Regions from separate parts of the Homo sapiens genome. Here region 2 is linked to region 1. The links are contacts of gene promoters, found by promoter capture Hi-C in human tissues and cell types (Jung and others, 2019). All regions are on one chromosome and are shown on one strand. Each heading gives the region's core, a stretch centred on a gene start or on the middle of the fragment in contact. The rest is flanking DNA. Distances are from core to core; before and after follow the strand shown. Region 1 holds the start of ADH7 (alcohol dehydrogenase 7 (class IV), mu or sigma polypeptide). Region 2 overlaps ADH5 (alcohol dehydrogenase 5 (class III), chi polypeptide).

Region 1 (3,182 bases), core at 359-2,858:
TTTGGCACTTTATCATCCAATCAAGTTTCATGGAGACTGGATTAGGACCATAAGACTTATTCAGATATTAAGCCTCACATGATACATTATTTTTTGTAAAAAAATTTTAGATTAATATGATACAAAGTTTTGCCAAGCCCTTAAGAGGGAGTTTATCAATTCAGCGCTTTTGCATTTATGCTGTCACCACCCATGTTTGAACTCATTTTCTTTTGTTCATAAGTAAACAAGTTTTTGTTTGAAAGTCGAGACTAAGAATACCTGTCCTTGTCCACACCTGTTTAACTTTGTCTTATAGTGCCAGCAAACATACTGGAGTTCTTCAGCACTACTGCTAAAGCAATGGTGCTTACTCACAAGCCAAATCAACTGGCAATGGTTTTTCCTGGTGGATTTGATTTGGTTAATGAGTTGTAGTAACAAATTCTAATTACAAATTCTGAATTTGACATAATATATGTTAAATTGGATGTACATTTACTATGTTATATTGAAAGAGAGATGTGTGGAAAAAATGTATACTTATTTTTGAAAAGAAACTTTTGTTTGTATCTGAAAAATAAACTCTTAGCAAATTTCATCTCTGGGTTGTTAAGAGTCCAGGTTCTGGACTTCATAGCTTGAACAGCTTTGTCTGAAGACTTAGAAAACCTGCTTCACTGGATCACTTAACAAAAGTAAAATATCCTTTGTGTAAAGTTTTCTTGGAGGTGATGGTGTACCAGTATGCTGACCATCTGGTGTACCAGTATGCTGACCATCTACTGTCAAAAATAACATCTATACTGGACATTCTCCTATCAAATAATAGATCCAGAAGCTTCTGGAGCCATTGCAACTTATATTAAGAAATAATGGTCTGTAATGGTTAAACAGCTACTCAAGAAGACCTAGGTACTTGCCCAAGTAGATGAAAACCCTCTGGCATTCGATAGCCAGTATGCAGGCTGGATTTCAATTTCTCTTGAGCCCCTGCACTGTGTTACATTGGTGCCGTAAACAAACTGTACAACCATATGAGGCAACTCTGTGGTTAATGGGATTTGGAGTCAGATGATAATTTCTCTAAGTGCAGACACAGAAAGTTTCACTTAACTTTCTACACCTAAAATACTTAGAAACCATAGTCATCCATATTGATATTTTATATCATCTCAACTTCTCTTGCCCAAACTTGACCTACTGTTGCAATTATTTTACATTTCCTTGGCTCTGTTTTCATTTATATTTAATTCCAGAAACCACATCAAGTCTTTGCAGAATGAAGTAGAGCATTAAGAAGTAGAGATGTACACACGCATCTCTAAAATCAGCCATGCCTAGGCAAAGCAGCTTGCACTTAAACACCCAATACATTTTTCATGATTGTGTTGAAGTGAAGTAACCTAACCCGTTTTTATATCCTTCAAAATAAGGTGGATAGGAATGCTTTCAGCCCTTTTCAATAGCTTTGATTATCTTGTTTTTGTTAGATCCCTCCTCTTGGTTTGATCATAGTAGTTACTGTATTTCTTTTTATAAGTTGGTCTGCAAAGGGTAGGGCTTGCAGACCATTGCAAAGTTGTGACGGCTGTGAGTCATATTGCTGAAGGTGGAACTCTGAAGCCAGACTATCTATGTGAAGGCACAAGCTGCTGTTATATACAACAGAGTGAACTGAGCATCAGTCAGAAAAAGTCTATGTTTGCAGAAATACAGATCCAAGACAAAGACAGGATGGGCACTGCTGGAAAAGTAAGTGGAACATTTCTGTCCCCTCCTCATCATGACCTAATGATGTGAGGCTGATACTTAGAACTTTGAATCCATTAAAGTAATTAAACACTTGGAGATATTCCTTGAGGAATGAAATGCTTGGTGAGCAGGCATACAGTGAGGGAAACACTGGATATGGTGTTTCAGAGAATGTCAGTGGAAGCAGGGGTAAGTTGGAAATAGTATATCCAATGTCAGCAAGACATTGGTGGAAAATAGAGAAATTGATTTATATTGGCATTATTCATAATTTGATTTCCGGATAGCTGGGCAATTGCTCCAGGAAGCCAAATGTTTCCACAAGGACACTTCAATCGTCTCAGTAGCATGTGCTGCACTCGCTGCAGTAGTTCAATGGGAAACCAGGGTCTCATGCCCAGATGTTGGAAGAAACGTTCCTGCCATTAAGAATGGAAAATGCTAATTCTGGGATGCAAAATGGCCAAGAAAGTGTCATGAATTTTAGGTTTCTTACAAATGTAATTTTTATCAAAATATATATTTAAAAATTCTTTAAAATCAAGACTATATTATTGGTAAAGTATGTTTATCGTTCTAAAAACAACAGAGTTAGCAGAGTTGGTATTAACTTTAGAAACAGCTTTGCTTTGTTTTTTTTTATTTGAAAATAGGTCAGTATATTTCCTTACTTTAAATGGGTACATAATTGCTTAAAGGACTAAATTTTTTTGTTTGTTTTGTTTTAACTTGAACAATTTTGCATTTAGCTTGCTTAAGGTTTTGGAAAAATAAAGATGACATGAGAAGTCTGGGTAATGTGACAAGTCAGGAGACTCTATGATGTTAGAATTTGAAATAAGTTTTACTAGAATTGGATAGAACTGGAATAAAACCATCCTAATTTGGGTCAGAAATCCAGCAAAACTAGATTACTTGGGAAGTTAATTTTGCACTACAGAAACTAGCAACTCTACCCATGGATATTAATGAATCTTAGAACTGAAAGGAATCTTAAAAATTTGCAACTTTTACCACCCAACAGATGCTTCAGGTCTGGTTACACTATTTCTAGGAAGTCGATATTCATCCACTGTAAGAACATTTCTGATGATGGAGAAAGTAGCCTCAAGGCAGCACTTTCCAATTAATAATACAGTATATAATATATAAAGAGTATAAAAGTTATATGATTTTGATATATGGTCATGCAATAGTGTGGTTTGCCTAAGGATTATATATTTCCCAACTTTCTGTAGTGTTCCAGTGTAGCTCTTGAAAGGAGTTTCCCTTTACATTGGGATTGATTTTTTCTCTTTATAATAAATGTTTTCTTTTTCATTAAAAAAGTAAAAGATAACTGTATTAGTTTCCTAGGGCTTCCATAACAAAATATCACAGACTGGGTGGCTTAAACAGCAGAAATTTGTTTTCTTGTACATCTGAAGGCTGCAATTCTGAGATTAAGG
Region 2 (3,182 bases), core at 387-2,886, 360 kb after region 1:
AAAGTATTTACTTCTTCACTGAAAGGTGTTGGTCAAATTCTTCATCTCCATGCTATTTTGGAGTTTCTCATTACTCTTTAACTCATCAAAAAATTCATTCTTTTAAATGCCTTTTGTCCTCAGCTAAGTAACAAGCATACTGCAGAAATTTGTTGAATAAATTAATGTGTGATTTCTTTTAGGATGGAAGAGTGTAGAAAGTGTCCCAAAGTTGGTGTCTGAATATATGTCCAAAAAGATAAAAGTTGATGAATTTGTGACTCACAATCTGTCTTTTGATGAAATCAACAAAGCCTTTGAACTGATGCATTCTGGAAAGAGGTAGGCTTTCTCTTTATATATCATAGAATGTAATAATGATGTTGAGTTTGAGGGGATGGAGAGTCGAAAAACACAATTTTAGTTGTCTTAAAGGTATCATTTAAAACTTAGTATGTTGCTTCCTTTTACAGCATTCGAACTGTTGTAAAGATTTAATTCAAAAGAGAAAAATAATGTCCATCCTGTCGTGATGTGATAGGAGCAGCTTAACAGGCAGGGAGAAGCGCCTCCAACCTCACAGCCTCGTAGAGCTTCACAGCTACTCCAGAAAATAGGGTTATGTGTGTCATTCATGAATCTCTATAATCAAGGACAAGGATAATTCAGTCATGAACCTGTTTTCTGGATGCTCCTCCACATAAATAATTGCTAGTTTATTAAGGAATATTTTAACATAATAAAAGTAATTTCTACATTTGTGTGGAAATTGTCTTGTTTTATGCTGTCATCATTGTCACGGTTTGTCTGCCCATTATCTTCATTCTGCAAGGGAAAGGGAAAGGAAGCAGGGCAGTGGTGGGTGTCTGAAACCTCAGAAACATAACGTTGAACTTTTAAGGGTCTCAGTCCCCGTTGATTAAAGAACAGATCCTAGCCATCAGTGACAAAGTTAATCAGGACCCAAGTCTGCTTCTGTGATATTATCTTGAAGGGAGGTACTGTGCCTTGTTCATACCTGTACCCCAAATTCCTAGGATGGCATCTGCCCTTCAGGGGGCACTAAAATGTATTATTGAAACAGCATTCTGGGCTTAAATAGGTGTATGTATGTGTTGGTTGTGACTGTACTATTTCTAGTATAGTGAACTACATACTGAATATCCAAGTTCTCAGCACCTACTTTTGTCAAATCTTAACATTTTGCCACTTCGAGATCACATTGCCATTCCTCCCCTCCAGAGGTAACAATTATCCACAATTTGATGTTTATCATTCCTGTGTTGTTGTACTTTCACTGTGTATAACCTAAACCATCTACTCTTTAGTACTGTTTTATATATTTTTAAGCCTCATACTTGCTCATTCTACAGCTTTTTTCACTCATTATTGTATAATTATATCTGAAGCTCTCGTTCATTAATTTTAGTCCTGTGTAGCAGAATTCAATTACGGGAACTACCATAATTTATCTGTTCTCCAGTTGAAGGCATGAAGTTGTTGCCAGTTTCTGTATTATAACACTGTAGTGGAACATTCTTCTGCATTGGGCTCACTGCGTGTTACCTAAGACGTATCACAGAATAAACACATTTAGCCTTATAGACATTGCCAAATTGCTCTTCAAAGTAAATGTGAGTTTTTGTGAATTACATGAGTATGGAATGGTGTTTTATTATGACTTTAGTTTGCATTTTCCTCAATTCTCGTTAAATCCTTCATTCTAATGGACATTTTATTGTGAAGAACCTGTTCATATCCTGTGCTCAACTTTGTATTGAATTATTTTTCTCTGAATAATTTTTAGGAGTTCTTTTATTCTAGACATCAATCATTTGTCAGTTTTATATGTTGCAAATATCTTCTAGTCTATCTTGTGACTTTTCTTTTTACTTTATGGTATTTTGTTGAATAAAGTTTTAATGTAGTCACATAAATCTTCCTGGTGGTGGTAAGTAACATTTAGGTTATTTTATCCTGAGAAGTATAAAGAAGCAAACAAAAATGGTCCAGGATCTTACCATCCTGATAATCCTTGACATAAAAATAAATTAATGAATGCAATATACCTAAGGGTTAGAAAATATAAATTGTTAGGAAATTATATAATGAGAAAGAAAAGCTATACACCTGCAAAAAAATGGGTGATTACTGTTAAGTTTCTTACGTATCTTTTTAGGAGTTTCTATGCACACAATAGCATATATATCCTCTAAAATTACACGAAAGGAATACTATCAACACTACTCTGTGAACTTTTTTCTCCACATGATAACATAGAGTTTATATCAGTGCATCACGTTTACCATGCAAATATCTTTTGGTTGGATTGATGCTATGTGCTTTTTCAATTTATTGATATGGTTTAAATGCTCCCACAGAATTGTGTGAGAGAGCAATATGTCATTGATTGAAAAGTGGGAAACAAACTGGTAGTAATGGTCAGGATTTCCCCTTTTCAGAACTTTGGTGCATTTGAAGTGCCTGACAATGTAGTCCAGCTTCCCTCCTGTTTTACCTAGAGGGCTGGAGATATGAGGGCCCAAAGGGGCCACAACTGTTATCTTAAGTGGACTGAAAGGAAGACGAAATTAAAACTAGCTTCTACTCCACTTGTAGGAAATGTGCTTTTAATCTTTGGTGTAGCCCAGCCTTCTAGGAACAAAAGTATCCTATGTTGGCAACTGCAGTAACAAAACAGTTATGGAGAGTATGGAGGAGAGCCAGTAACTCCTAAAGGTCTTGTTCCTTTGACTTTTCTTCTCAAACAAACATGAGATATTCATGAATTGCAATGGCAAACGTTTTTTAGGTTCGCCAATATGAAAATGTAAAGCAGTTTTAAGATGATTAATATTAAAATAGGCCAAGTGCGGTGGCTCACAACTGTAATTCCAGCACTTTGAGAGCCCAAAGTGGGAGGATCACTTGGCCTCCGAAGTTCAAGACCAACCTGGGCAACACAGATGTCATCTCTAGAAAAAAAAAAAATTTTTTTTTTTTAATTGGCCGGGCATGGTGGCATGTGCCTGTGGTCCTAGCTACTAAGGAGGCTGAGTTAGAAAGATGGCTTGATCCCAGGAGGTCGAGACTGCAGTAAGTCATAATCGCAGCACTGCACAGCCTGGGCAACAGAGTGAGACCCTGTCAAATAAATAAATAAAATACTACTCTAATTTTTGTAGCTAGCCTATTATTGAATT

What was found. The method cuts DNA at HindIII sites, captures the fragments that hold promoters and counts their contacts. A contact is called where the count stands out against the background at its distance.
Region 2: a contact is called between a fragment that was not itself captured here and the fragment with the promoter of ADH7 in region 1, in 1 of the 25 tissues and cell types used here (aorta).

Annotation. Positions count from the first base shown.
Region 1 is chr4:99,433,768-99,436,949 of GRCh38, reverse strand. It overlaps ADH7 (alcohol dehydrogenase 7 (class IV), mu or sigma polypeptide), which reads left to right and starts at 1,608. Exons shown (of 9, transcript NM_000673.7): 1 at 1,608-1,734. The coding sequence starts at 1,717. RefSeq lists a promoter at 1,122-1,695. The HindIII fragment of the contact is 9,235 bases long and covers 1-3,182 here.
Region 2 is chr4:99,069,712-99,072,893 of GRCh38, reverse strand. It overlaps ADH5 (alcohol dehydrogenase 5 (class III), chi polypeptide), which reads left to right. Exons shown (of 9, transcript NM_000671.4): 8 at 183-321; 9 at 453-1,916. The coding sequence ends at 477. Among named protein-coding and RNA genes, the nearest start is that of ADH5, 17 kb to the left of the region's middle. The HindIII fragment of the contact is 4,225 bases long and covers 1-3,182 here.